Linked DNA regions of Homo sapiens: regions 1, 2 and 4 are each linked to region 3. Evidence: promoter capture Hi-C in 16 types of primary human blood cells and fetal thymus (Javierre and others, 2016). All regions are on one chromosome and are shown on one strand. Each heading gives the region's core, a stretch centred on a gene start or on the middle of the fragment in contact. The rest is flanking DNA. Distances are from core to core; before and after follow the strand shown.

Evidence for each region. Contacts are between HindIII fragments. The CHiCAGO score rates a contact against its expected background, and 5 or more counts as called.
Region 1: a fragment that was not itself captured here is called in contact with the fragment with the promoter of MMADHC in region 3 in 1 of 17 cell types (total B cells); the score reaches 7.3 in total B cells.
Region 2: a fragment that was not itself captured here is called in contact with the fragment with the promoter of MMADHC in region 3 in 6 of 17 cell types (total CD4 T cells, total B cells, activated CD4 T cells and 3 more); the score reaches 10.4 in total CD4 T cells.
Region 4: a contact is called between a fragment that was not itself captured here and the fragment with the promoter of MMADHC in region 3, in 1 of 17 cell types (total CD4 T cells). The highest score is 8.4, in total CD4 T cells.

Annotation. Positions count from the first base shown.
Region 1 is chr2:152,744,367-152,747,703 of GRCh38, forward strand. The region is part of intron 3 of ARL6IP6 (ARF like GTPase 6 interacting protein 6); the gene reads left to right. Among named protein-coding and RNA genes, the nearest start is that of ARL6IP6, 27 kb to the left of the region's middle. The HindIII fragment of the contact is 4,628 bases long and covers 1-3,337 here.
Region 2 is chr2:152,725,141-152,728,577 of GRCh38, forward strand. All of the region lies in intron 2 of ARL6IP6 (ARF like GTPase 6 interacting protein 6), which reads left to right. Among named protein-coding and RNA genes, the nearest start is that of ARL6IP6, 8.2 kb to the left of the region's middle. The HindIII fragment of the contact is 1,260 bases long and covers 870-2,129 here.
Region 3 is chr2:149,585,638-149,589,094 of GRCh38, forward strand. MMADHC (metabolism of cobalamin associated D) reads right to left here and starts at 2,138. Exons shown (of 8, transcript NM_015702.3): 1 at 2,027-2,138; 2 at 1,452-1,512. The coding sequence starts at 1,460. MMADHC-DT (MMADHC divergent transcript) reads left to right here and starts at 1,721. Exons shown (of 3, transcript NR_110240.1): 1 at 1,721-2,213. RefSeq lists enhancers at 1,349-2,548, 1,865-2,184. The HindIII fragment of the contact is 5,011 bases long and covers 1,857-3,457 here.
Region 4 is chr2:152,700,437-152,703,667 of GRCh38, forward strand. All of the region lies in intron 2 of PRPF40A (pre-mRNA processing factor 40A), which reads right to left. Among named protein-coding and RNA genes, the nearest start is that of PRPF40A, 15 kb to the right of the region's middle. RefSeq lists enhancers at 439-1,066, 553-1,752, 2,025-2,526. The HindIII fragment of the contact is 5,812 bases long and covers 1-3,231 here.

The DNA of each region.
Region 1 (3,337 bases), core at 537-3,036, 3.2 Mb after region 3:
ATAGAAGTCAGCATGAATTTACTCTTACATTTTTAGAGAAATTTGAAGTTTGGTATCTTCTCTTTAGATATATTATTGGTTGTATTTATGGCTTATTTGATATAGGGTTCATGGCCAAAATGCAGGGAAACTTCAGTTATTAGTGTTATATCATGATTTCTAGGCATATGCCAAGGTAAAGAGTGGTGTCTTTTTTTCACAAATGCCTGCTAAAATATAATCTATGAGATTAGATTGGGAATTTGCATTATTTCACAGTTAATATACAAATCAGCGGGTATCTGCTACCTTCCTCATGCTATCAATCTTTATTGTCTGATCACTATGAATTATCCATCTTTCCATTTCTTCTTCTTCCAACCACAAATAACATTTGATAAATATCCAGACACTCAATTTTAGAAAACATGCTTTTAATTTAATTTTTATTTAATGTAACATTATTTATATGCATCCTTGTTTAAAAAAATTGTATTGCCTTACAATGCAATCTGGAATCTGCAAAATAAATTGTAAGTGAGAAAGAAAAGGGAACAAGTTAATTTTAGTTTGAATTAATTTTTGGTAAATTGTTTTTAGTAACTATTTTAGAGAGTAACATGATCTATTACTCTTTTACATGTGTTACTTCCTATGTAAAGCGTTCTGTATGTAATTAGATGCTAACATTTGTGTGTGAGAGTGTGTTGTTAACTGTAGTAGGGAGCAGCAGATAGTAAAATACTTTGACATGTGAATTTCCTGGAACATTCAGGATTCAGTATTGGCATCCTGTATTATAATGTTACTTTTCTATTCAACATTAGTTTGGGTCTTTAAAATATTGTTATTAGGGTTTTTCTCTGACGTCTTCACATTGAGGGTTAGGAAGATAGAGAACAAATAAAACAGTTGAATCATAATATGCAATTCAAGAAAAGGGAACAAGTTGATTTTTGTTTGAATTGCTTGAAATTTGAAATTTCCAGCAGCACTCAGTTTTCTTTAATACAGTTAGCCTATCCTCATAACTAAATACAAGCACTGATTTTCCCTCCTTGGAAATAAGTATATGTGGACATCTTTAGCATAAAATAATATACGAGTGTTACAGGTTCTTAACTTGGGCATATATATAAGCCTTGGAGGTCAAAAACAGTGGGTTAGTTAGTATTCAAATTAGAAATTTCTTTTCCATGCAGACTAGATTTAACATTGAGCACAGTGAATTGACTCTACTACTCTTTGATACAGATTTTGGAGAGCTGCCTCTTTGTCGAATCAGATTCTTTATTGCCATGAACTAATGAAACAGATGTCAGATGGCTAATTGCAGTAGGAGAGAAAAGCTACTGACAAAAGAGATGGTTCAGGAACTTGGCCTTGATATTTGAGTATCATGAAATCTCATTATCTGGGGACTATTCAGAGCCATCAATTACAGTGCTGTCACTATTAATGAATATATTGATGGCATTGCACCGCGGCTTCTTGAAGTAAAGGGTTAAAGTACATGCATATTGTGTAAGATATATTTCATTACTGTTCTGAATGGAGATATGCATAGATATAACAAAATCCTCTAGGAAATTGTATTAACTATTGGTTTTATTGTTTCCATAAAGTGATACAGCTAATGAGTGCTTGCTTTGTACCTTTTTTTTTTTTTTTTTTTTTTTTTTTTTTTTTAAAGACAGGTTCTCACTTTGTTGCCCAGGCTAGATAGCAGTGGCATGATCTTGGGTGACTGCAACCTTTGCCTTCTGGGCTGAAGCGATCCTCCCACCTCAGACTGCTGAGTAGCTGGGACCACAGACATGCGCCACCACATCTGGCTAATCTGGCTAATTTTTGTATTTTTTATAGAGACGGGGTTTTGCCATGTTGCCCTAGCTGGTCTCGAACTCCTGGGTTCAAGTGATCCACCTGCCTCGGCCTCCCAAAGTGCTGGGATTACAGGCATGAGCCACCTTGCCCAGCTGCTCTTGCTTGTGCTATTTACAGTGTTATATATGAGTAGCTGAAGAGGGACAAGTGTCCATATGCCCAGAGCAATACTGACAAGAAATACTTGAGAGACAGTGCTTGCCAATTTTGTACTTGGAACCCTTTTTGTTTGTTTAACAACCTATAAATTACCAGAGGCAGCCTGATATAATTAAAAAGGGTCTTGAAGTCAGGAGAGGTAGCTTCCAAATCCAACCTACCCTAGCAGAAGGACATTTGAGCAAGTCAGTTAGTATATCCAAGCTATAACTTCCTCATCTCTAAAATGGAGTAAAAATAATGGTACCCTCATAGGCAGTAAGTGTAAGTTTACTAAAGCAACAGATACGTCAGATGATAAAGCAGACATAGTGTCAGAGGTTTTCTTTTCTTAAGGTTTTTTGAGCTGGAAGTCTGACCATGGCCTGCCACAAGTTGCCAGTTATCTTTTCTTGGATAATTGTTATTTATCCTGAGATTTTATCCTTTCTTTTTTTTTTTTTTTTTTTTTTTTGAGGTCTTGCTTTGTTGCCCCAGGCCGAAGTGCAGAGTGGCACAATCATGGCTCACTGCAGCCTCAACTGCCTGGGCTCAAACAACCCTCCTGCCTCCGCCTCCCAAATTGCTGGGACTACAGGCGAGTGCTGCTATGCCTGGCTAAATTTTTTATTTTTATTTTGTAGAGATAGGGTCTCACTAAGTTGCCCAGGACAGTCTTGAACTCCTGAGCTCAAGCAATCCTCCTGGCCTAGTCTCCCAAGGCACTGGGATTACAGGCGTGAGCCACCACGCCCAGCCAACAACTAATTGTTAATATTATCTCATTTAGTTTTAATAAGAACACTAATGAAAGGAATTATTATCCTCATTTTAAAGATTGAGAATTAGATTTTCTGGTAGGTTAAAATAGTTCTGTGACTAGTACAGCCATGACTAAACTCCAGTGAGGAGAGAGCTAGCTTTCCAGGTCTTTCATTCTGATCATATTAAACAATTGAGCTTCCTATTCTCTCCATTGTCTCTTGCTTCTGCGCATACTGTTAGGTGTTTAGAACACTAAATCCCTCATACTCAATTTTAGTTCAGGTATTAGCTCTTCTTTGGAATTTTTTCTCCCCTTCTACAAGCTGAATGGCTCCTTTATGTTCCAGTAATACTGCCTGCAAAACAATCTACTACGTCACAAGATTCTGTTATCTTCGAAGGCAGTACTGACTCCTTACTCATTTCTCTCTCTTTTTTTTTTTCCTTTTTTTGTTGGTTTGAGATAGTCTCACTCTGTCACCCAGGCTGGAGTGCAGTGGCATGATCTTGGCTCACTGCAACCTCCACCCGCTGGGTTCAAGCAATTCTCCTGCCTCAGCCTCCAGAG
Region 2 (3,437 bases), core at 250-2,749, 3.1 Mb after region 3:
ACTGAGCTATATTTCTCATAAAGTTTATTTGATCTTGAAATTACCACATTGGTCTATTGGACATTTTTTAATTTTGAAATACGTTTTGGGATTTTAGTGGTCACATATTGTTCTTTCTCAAAACATTCTCCTATTTCATTATTTTAGTATTACTCATCAATTCTCAACTATGGTCGAAAGAATAAAATAATTATGATGGAATTAGGATTCCAGTAAGACTTTCCTAAGACTTTAAGTATTTTTTTCATCTTTTATGAGGTCTGCATCCTAATTTATTTGATACTGTTTGTAAGTGGACAGATGCTAAGGGCAGATGTGTATACAAAGGTGATTTGGAAAAAAAAATGCAAAAAAGAATTATTGGGTTGACCATTTGAATTGTTTGTAATCTAAAAATGAAAATATGTTACAAATTATGGAGCAAAGAAGATTGTTGTCCTCTTTTCGTCAAAATAAGCCATGAAAGGCTTAAAAATTCCTTCAAACATTGTGTTTTAATGACGCAAGTGCAAAAAAAAAAAGCAGGAATAATGACAAGCTGTAACCAATTTGAGATGTATCTGAAATCTGGAAGTGGTATTTACAAGATGGATATGTTGTAGATTCATACATGAAGTTAGTAAGCAATTATTTGCACTCAGGTCGTGCCCATTTTTGGTGTACATGACTTTAGGGAAACTGGGAATTGAAATTCGGATTTGCTGTATTTATTTCTTATGAAAATTTTTAACAAAGTTTTTTTCCTGCTGTCTTTTTGCTCTCTAAATTATTCTTCAAGTGTCATGAAAATAAAGGAAATAAAAAAGCCTCTTTGGACTTATATGATAAAAATATTGATGACTGTTTTCCCTGTTATACTGAAGATTACAAGCTTCAGAGGAGAATATAAATTTAACAGGATTGCCCATGAATTAATTGTTTAAAGCTGGATGATGGGTATATGAGTTTTATATACTTCTCTCAACTTTTTCCTGTGTTTGAAATGATCTGTAATAAAAGTGTTGGGTTTTTTTTTTAATTTTCCCATGTGAATCTAATGATTTACCAATGTTGGGAACTACAGGTGTTATTTATTTTTGAAATTTCAGTCACTTAATCTGTCAGAGGATCACCTTCCTCATCTGTTTCAACAGAAAGATGTAGAAATGCTACAGTCTGGGTTGCAGGTGGTCGGGCGATTGGGTGAAGGCCTTAACCAGTGTAACTGCTATAGCTACCATGCACTCTGCACCCACTATGCTCATGTTGCATTGGCAGGAGAGGAGAGAGCACTTTCCTCTGCTCCTGCACTTGGCTTTGACGTGTAAAGAGACACTTTGCTCTAGGGATTTAAAGACTTGAGCTATCTATAGAATGTGATTTAGAGAGGATACCAAATTATTTAAAATAATGGTCATCCTCTCAAGTTAGAAAACTATAGAATCTAATAAAGTTGAGAACATTTGCTTACATAAACATTTAAAAATTGATGGTTAGTTTCATGCATATGATACATCTAAGTTTTATTAGTAGCCAGCTGGTAATAGTTTTTACAACTTTTAAAGTTAGCTAAGTACAGCCATACACCACATACCATTTTGGTCAACAGTGGTCTGCATATATGCCTGTATGATGGTGGTCCCATAAGATTACAGTGGAGCTGAAAAATTCCTATTTAGTGGCATTGCAACTGTCCTAACTTGGTAGTACAATATATTGCTCACATGTTGGTGTTGATGCTGGTATAAACCAACCTATTACCAATCTAGTTTTATATAACCTTCCAGTCATAAAAAAAAATACAGCACAATTACGTGCAGTACATAACATAATTCTTGATAAACAATTATGTTACTGGTTTATGTATTTACTATGCTTCTTATTGTTTTAGATTATATTACTTCTGCTTAAAAAAAGTTGACTGTAAAACAGCCTCAGGCAGGTCCTTCAGGAGGTATCCCAGAAGAAGGCATTGTTGTCATAGGAGATGACAGTTTCATGCATGTTGTTGCCCTTGAAGACCTTTCAGTGGAAAAAGATGTGACAGTGAAAAACAGTGATATTACCTTGACCCTATGTAGGCCTAGGCTAATGTGTGTGTGTCTTAGATTTCAACAAAGAAGTTTAAAAACTAAAAAATTAGAAATAGAAGCTTATAGAGTAATGGTATAAAGAAAAAACATTTTTGCACAGCTGTACAGTGTCCTTTTGTTTTAAACTGTTAGTAGAAAAGGGTAAAGTTAAATTTTAAAATTTATAAAGTAAGAAAGTTACAGTAAGCTAAGGTTAATTTATTAATGAAGAGAAAAATTTTTTAATTTAGCGTAACCTAAGTGTACAGTGTTTATAATAGTCTATTGTAGTGGACAGTAGTGTCCTTGGCCTTCACCTTCACTCATCAGTCACTCGCTCACTGATTGACCCAGAGCAACTCTTTGTCCTGTAAGCTCCATTCATTGTAAGTACCCTATACAGGTGTACCATATTTTATCTTTTACACTGTATTTTTACTGTACCTTTTCTATATTTAAGTATGTTCAGATACACAAGTACTTATTGTTGTATTACAGTCGCGTGCAGTATTTGGTATAGTAACATGCCGCACAGGTCTGTAGCATTGGAATAATAGGATATAACTGTATAGCTCATAGGTGTGTAGTAGGCTATATACCTAGGTTTTTGTAAGTACGCTCTTGTGATGTACAAACAACAACGAAATCACCTAATGATGCATTTCTCAGAACATATCCCTGTCATCAGTGTATGATTGTATTGTATTTTCATTGTTAGTATCATAAAATGCATTAGTTACGTAAGTAATTTAATCTCACCAGGAAAGATTCCAACAATTAAAGCAAAGGCTTTCACCGATCTACCTGTGTGTCTTTTTACATCTTTTTCTCTTTGTTTACATATGTATAGTCATTTAAAATACATGTTTTTTTCACTGTTATAGGAAAAATATAATTGGAATCATGTATATTTTGCAGCCTTGTTAAAGTGCCTTTTGGAGTATATTCTGTATTAGTATACATAGGTCTACCTCATTTTTTCATGACTGCATTGTATTTCATAATATAAGTATACCAGTTTATTTAAACATTTCAAATGTCAGAATCTCTTACCCAGGACTTGGAAATTACTAGTATACAGTCACGTTTAATCCCATTGTTTACTTATGAAGTTTTATGAAGTGTGTGCAATTGATTGCCTAACACTTATTTAATAGGAAACCTTTCCCTAGTATAGGAACCATGAGAGTTTTGTTTTTTTCTGGTGTATTCTGATTATATATAATATGTGTAAATTGGTGCCTCTGTGTCTGACTTCATAAAACTTCTTGAAAGTTGCCTCATCCCCGTAAGCTAAAACTGTTAAACAAAATGAAAATATTTAGAGCATATAACAGCCTCTTTTGCTGGAAGGTTTTATAGAAATAAAGTTGCCAGCATATTTTT
Region 3 (3,457 bases), core at 888-3,387:
CCCCTTTGTTCAGAAAGGCTTTGTCACAGTCCCCATGAAGGCTTCTTAATGTACCTGTCTAGACTCTGAAACATGAACATTCTTGCCCCTTGTTATGAAACACTATCTGCATATTTCATTAGTAACATCCATCCACAATTTACAATCCATATAAATTAACACAAAAATTGTTATCGTACATTTGGATACTGAAACTTAAATTTATTTTAATATGAACTTCTTTCTAACAAAAGACTTATAAAAGGATCTTCCCTACTGAACTATTATAATTTATTCATTTAAACCAAAATAAAACCAGGTCAAATAATAGCATTCTATTCTACTTCAATTAATTTCTCTCCTTTGAAAGTACCACATACTTCTTTTACAGCATTCTCTTTCTGTGCAGGTTATGGGCAGGCAAAAATTCACCATAGAACTTGGCCAAGACTAGTAATCTATTCTTATGACTTGTCTCTATAGTCACACTTTAGACTTAATATACCATGTTCAATTACAGAAATAGCATCCTGGCTAAATGCTGCCATATAAATCTTCCTAGCACACAGCTCTAAGTGAATAATCACAATTTAAAGAATGAAGTCTAAATTACTGAGTTCGGCATTCAAGGCTCTCATTTACTTGGTACCAACCTCACAATTCAACCTTATCTCCCACTTATCTCTTTCATGCAGCTTACATTCAGGTTGGCAGGCAGCAGTCACTTTTCAGTTTTTCAAAGGGGTAGGCGGGTTGGGGAGTTCTTTGAATATACCTTCCTGTCCTTCCCGCTCATATTTTAGACTATACAAATCCCACCTATCTTTCAAACCTCAAGTTAAATGTTTCCCTCATGAAGTGATCCCAAACTCCTCTCCACAAAGACTTGAATCTGCATTGCACCTTCGTGTAGGTTCTAAAAAAAATTATTACTTTATACTTTAATTGTAGCTGTTTTTATATATGTCTTATGACCGCTACATATGAATTCTATAGATAGGATGTGTCTAATCACTGCAAAGTTACAGTCAATAAATATCTCTGGTGTGTGAGAGTATCTCCTATTCTTATTTTGTAGGATTTAGAAGGTCACTTCCAATATGGAAACTGTTTTAAAAAAAAGAAAAAAAGATTAAAAAAACCCTTCAGTTTAGCTAACCCAAAAGCTAAAAAAGGGCCTAAACATAGATTCTAATATTTACTGAAACGCTGTATTTAAAAAATACCGAAAGGGTGCTTGAATTTCCACATCTGTACAAATGAAATTGTATAAATAAGTGTATTTGCAGTGCAAAGAATGCTACCATCTTCAAAGCATAACATAATTTCACACCACTTGCTTCCCTTGACATTTTTGATACATTATATCTAACACTATACCACCCAATGCCATCATAATTAAACCCGTTCTTTCATTCCTAACATTCCCAAACGAGTTTACTATGCTGATTCTTAAGAGATAATTTACTCACATTGGCCATCTCCGCTGGAGAAGATAGTTCGCAAAATAGCTTTCCTTTGGTAAAGTTATTTCTGGGAAAGAACACAACAAAACAGACGAGTGATCGATTAAACTCTAACAACAGACAACTGAGGTAACGTCCACTCTTCGAAGGTGTGTCGTCCACCACGTCAGGACCAAAGTCCAAGCTCTCCCCGTACCCTAAGGAGGCCAGAACTCGCCCCCATGCCAGGCACAGATCCCCCAGCCCGGAGCCGGCAGTGCAGCTCAGAGCCCTTCCGGTTTACAGCCGCGGAAAAACAACTCGGACCAGATCCGGGAGGGGAATGGGGGCTGGGTGGCCAAAATTCAGTCCAGAGGATCGAAGCGGCTGCTTTAACAGAAGTTGGGGCTGCGTAACAACAGCTCCAAGCAAAGCTTCAGGCTGATCGGAAAGATGAGGAAGCAGAAAAGAGACTAAAGACAGACGGACAGGATGGCTGGGGACAACGACAGGGACCCAGTGAAAATACGGGCAATACCGAGGGCTGTAACCCTAACACGGGCAAATTTGGAGGGGCTAACATGGGCGGAAACCATCCGTACCAGTCACCACCACTGTCTCCAGCTGTCCCAGAACCGGACTCTTCCTGCCATCAAAATGGCGGCGGCGACGGCAGCGGTGGTAGCACCTACGCTGGCGGTGAGCAGGCAAAGGAAGTTGCTTCCGAGCGCGTCGAAACGATGATGCGCACGCGCAAAGTAGGCCTACGTGGAGCCGACCTGCCATTGGGTAAACGCAAGGGAGGAGAAAAGGTGGGGCAGGGGTGATTTGGGTGGATGGATAGGAGGGCTTCCGACCTGCGTTAGGCGGGTCAGTTAATCTTCAGTAACTCCTTGATGCGTTTGATAGTCCTCCCAACTTAAGCCTTCCTTACTGCCTCCAGGAGATACAGTCTTCTGTTCTTTTTGTCATAGTTGTTTATTTTTCATGAATCGCTGTTTTTGAGCATAGGGCACTTACCTCTTTCTGTGTCCCCAGCCCTACCACAGTGCCAGGCTCTCAATATGCTCGATAAATATTAGGCGATTGATTTGTAAATCGTGTATCATTTTCATGTATCTAATACTTTTTTAAAAATTGATTAAAGCCCATAAGCCCATATTTTATTCCAGATGTCCTTAGTTTTCGACCTGGTATTCTTTTCCATTCCAGGATCCTGTCCGGAGTACATCACCATGTCTTCCAGGCTCCTCTGGACCGTGACCGTTTCTCAAACTTTCCTTGTTTTTGATAACCTTAATAGTTTTGAAGCGACTTATTGGTCATTTGGTCAAATGTCCTTCAATTGGGTTTTGCCTGTATTTTTCTCATGCATTAACTGAGGTTATGGGTTTTTCTTGAGTTAAGAGGTAAGGTAAAGTGATCTTCTCATCACATCACATCAAGGGTATATACTATCAACATGACTTATTACTGTTGATGCTAACCTTTATCACCATTATTACAGTGTCATACAGAAAAGTTTTATAGTTCTACAAAGATCCCCTTTGTTTCATCTAGTAAGCCCTTCCACCTCCCTATGTAGGGTTTGTCAGGTTTCTCCACTGTGAAGTTACTGTTTTTCTTTTCCTCTCCATACTATACTATTTGGAAGGACATCTCTCTGTGCAGCCCAAACTATAGGAATGGGAAATTGTTATACTCCACCTTTATGAGGACAGAATATCTTCATGAATTATTTGGAATTCTTCTGCATGGGAGATTTGTCTGTACTGCATTTATTTATGTATTCAATCATTTATGTCAGTATGGACTCATGGATATTTATTTTACATTTTGGGTTATAATCCAATACTACTTTATTTTGTTGTTCATATTGGTTCCAGCTTTGGCTATTGAGATTTCCTTTAGTTGGCATTTGTGTCTTTTTGACAAACCCTCCTCGTTTTATGTTTATTGATTTTTTTTCTTGAGCATTTTCTTAATTTCTATAAGTTGCTCCAGGCTCATCTTGTATATTCCCTGCCCCAATC
Region 4 (3,231 bases), core at 462-2,961, 3.1 Mb after region 3:
GATTCAGTAGCATATCAAGCTAAATCTTTATACTTTATTTCAGTATAAGGGTCTAATTTTCTATACCTAAGAAATATATGATCACAAATACACGATGACTTAGAGATTACTGAAAAATCATCTTTCGAAGAAGTAACAACTTTCTTGATTCCGCATGGCCAAATGGGTGTTTGCAAACAAGAACTTAATGCTCATTCATTTATCAAAAGCTAGTTTTAAAAGTCTTAGCCTAAATTTAAGATTAAGACCTAATGACAAGGATCCCATTCACAATGTAATGTGAATTTTGTTTAAAAAGATCAAAGTTGGCCAGGCGCGGTGGCTCACGCCTGTAATCCCAGCACTTCGGGAGGCCAAGGTGGGTGGATCACGAGAAATCGAGACCATCCTGGCCAACATGGTGAAACCCCGTCTCTACCAAAATACAAAAAATCAGCCAGGCATGGTGATGCGCACCTGTAGTCCCAGCTACTTGGGAGGCTGAGGCAAAGGAATTGCTTGAACTCGGGAGGTGGAGGTTGCAATGAGCTGAGATTGCGCCACTGCGCTCCAGCCTGGCGACAAAGCAAGAGTCCGTCTCAAAAAAAATAAATAAATAAAAAATAAAAATCAAAGTCTAAGATAAATGTAAGATTTTCGTTAAAATAAAAACAAAAACCAAAGCCTAAGACAGAGCAAACTGAATTTCAACTCAAGACAGTGTTCACTAGTTCTTCATGACTAACAGAATCATTCAGACTGGGAGAAGATTCAGATTCCCACTTTGAGTACACTGAGCAAGAAAGCAGCAGAAGTGGCTTTCCTTTTAAATCCACCAATGCAAAATATCATGACAGAGATGATAAATTCCTCTTCAAAAGGTTTTAATTCCCAGTTCTTCCACTTCGTTTTTCTGGTTTCTGTAGTTATCCATGCTATAACTAACCCTTCCTGCCCTTGCCGCGCCCTGACATGCCTAGACATGTCTTACGCCATAACGCATAGCCTTCCCCTTCCCGCCTAGATATCTGTGTTCAATTACAAACAGCAGCCAATCGAGTCAGTTTAGATTGTGCAGTCCAACCCTAGCCAATAGGGGAAAGACACAACAGTAGGGACCAGCTGTTAGGAATAAGAACCCCTTTCCCTCCCTTGTCCAGTGTGCTCTTGCCATTGCTCCATCCGCGAGACACACCCTTCTACAGAAGTAAATTGCCTTGATGAGAAAACTTTTGCCTGAGTATATTTTCACTTTGTGACACCAAGCATTTACTTCCAACAATTTGGGGGCCCACCCAGGATTCCCATTCTCCTCCGGGGAACCGGTCTCTGGTCACTTCTTGTGGGGAGGCGCATCCCATCGCCTTGTTGCAGTGGCCTCAGTGTGAGAGATTGGAACCCATCCAGTGCAACAAATAAACCCAGACTCTCGGCAACAAGAAAAGATACAGGCCAGCAGCTTGGCAAAAGGATTCTCACATGCTGCAGCAACCAGGTAACTCTGCACAGACCAAGGTAAGAAATGTTGCAGGGGTGACAAAGTATTTCCTTGGTGGTTGGGATATTCTGGAGGATGAAAGTGTGTGTGAATGATCACAAGCACTACTGCTTGCGGTGCTGCTTGTGTGAATGGTACCAAGCACTACTGCTGTGCAGAGTGAGTGGGTCCTATCTGCAGTTCTGTGGTCACTTCATACAGCTTAGGGCGGATCCTGCTGTGGGTTTCATACCGGCATGCCAATGCCAAGAGGGGCCTAAATTCCCACGAGGGAAGTAGCCAGAGTGGACAAAGCAAAAGAAGGATGCAAGGATCCTCCAGGAGGCGGGGTTAAAGGATAGGCAAGAAATCTCTAATACAAGGGACTGAGCCTTAACAAGCCTCCAGAGAATAGGCAAGAAGTCTCTAATACTAGGACCTGACATGGGAAATACCCTAAGCAAGACAAGGAGTAAAAAGGATAAAGGTAGCAGTAAAGATATTGCCCCGATAGTCCCCTAGGTCTCATGTTAAAAGACTGGAAAGATAATGAGAAGACTAAACATAAGCAGCAGCAATTACTGTTTTATTTGGACTCAGGGACCCATCCTCAAACCCTCAATCTTCTGGCCAAAGTTTAGGTCAAATGAGAGTGCGATGTGTCAGCTTTTGATTCAATATGTCAATGATAAAAGCCCAGCTTCTTAAGAGGAAATGGACTATGCTCTTTGTTGGAGGCAGGGACCTGTCCTCCTTTTTCCCTTTGAGACAACTAGGAAAGAACCTGATCTAGCATCACAAAAGGAAAAATTAGGTAAGTTAGTTCCAATGCTCAAAGACTCCAGCACATGGGATCCCCTAGACCATCTTCCCCCACTCAGTGACCCCAACCCCTCTCCTCAGGCAGCCGCTGCTGCCCCAGATCCCACTCTAGATCCTTCACCTACTCATGTTACTCCTCCTCCTTACAATCCTGACTTTTAGAAATTATCATCCCAGGAGCCTGTCCCCTATCAGCCTAAGGACCCCTCCCTAAAGGGACTCCAGTGTGAAATAGAGCAATGTAAAAAGGATATCCAGAACTTCCCTTTCCCCTCTACAACTCAAGAGTCAGCCCCTGCTCTCTTTCCCTTAAGAGAAATGCCATAAAGAGGGGGAACCATTGGCTCCGTGAATGCTCCCTTAATCAGTTCAGAGGTCCAGAATTTAAAGAAAGAGCTTAAGCCACTGCAAGATGACCCTTATGGAGTGACAGATCAAACTGATCAATTTTTAGGACCTCAGTTATACACTTGGGTAGAGTTAATGTCCATCTTGGACATCCTCTTTTCAGGAAAAGAAGGGAGTGTGATTCGTAGGGCTGCTATGGTAATTTGGGAACGTGAGTGTCCTCCCAGTCAAAAAGTTCCTACTGTGAACCAGAAATTCCCCGCCCGAGACCCCCAGTTGGACAATAAAAACATGCAGGACCTAAGGGAGATGATAATAAAAGGAATTCAGGAATCAGTACCCCAAACCCCAAATCTCTCTAAAGCATTTGATATATAACAAAAAAAAAGGATGAAGGGCCTATGAGATTCCTAAATAGACTGAAAGAGCAAATGAGACAATATGCAGGCCTCAATTTAGAAGATCCCCTTGGGCAAGGAATATTAAAACTCCAATTTGTCACTAGAAGATGGCCAGACATCTCAAAAAAAATTACAAAAGTAGAAAATTGGGAAGACCATCTCCTAAGTGAACTTCTCAGGGAAGCTCAAAAAGTATATGTGAGA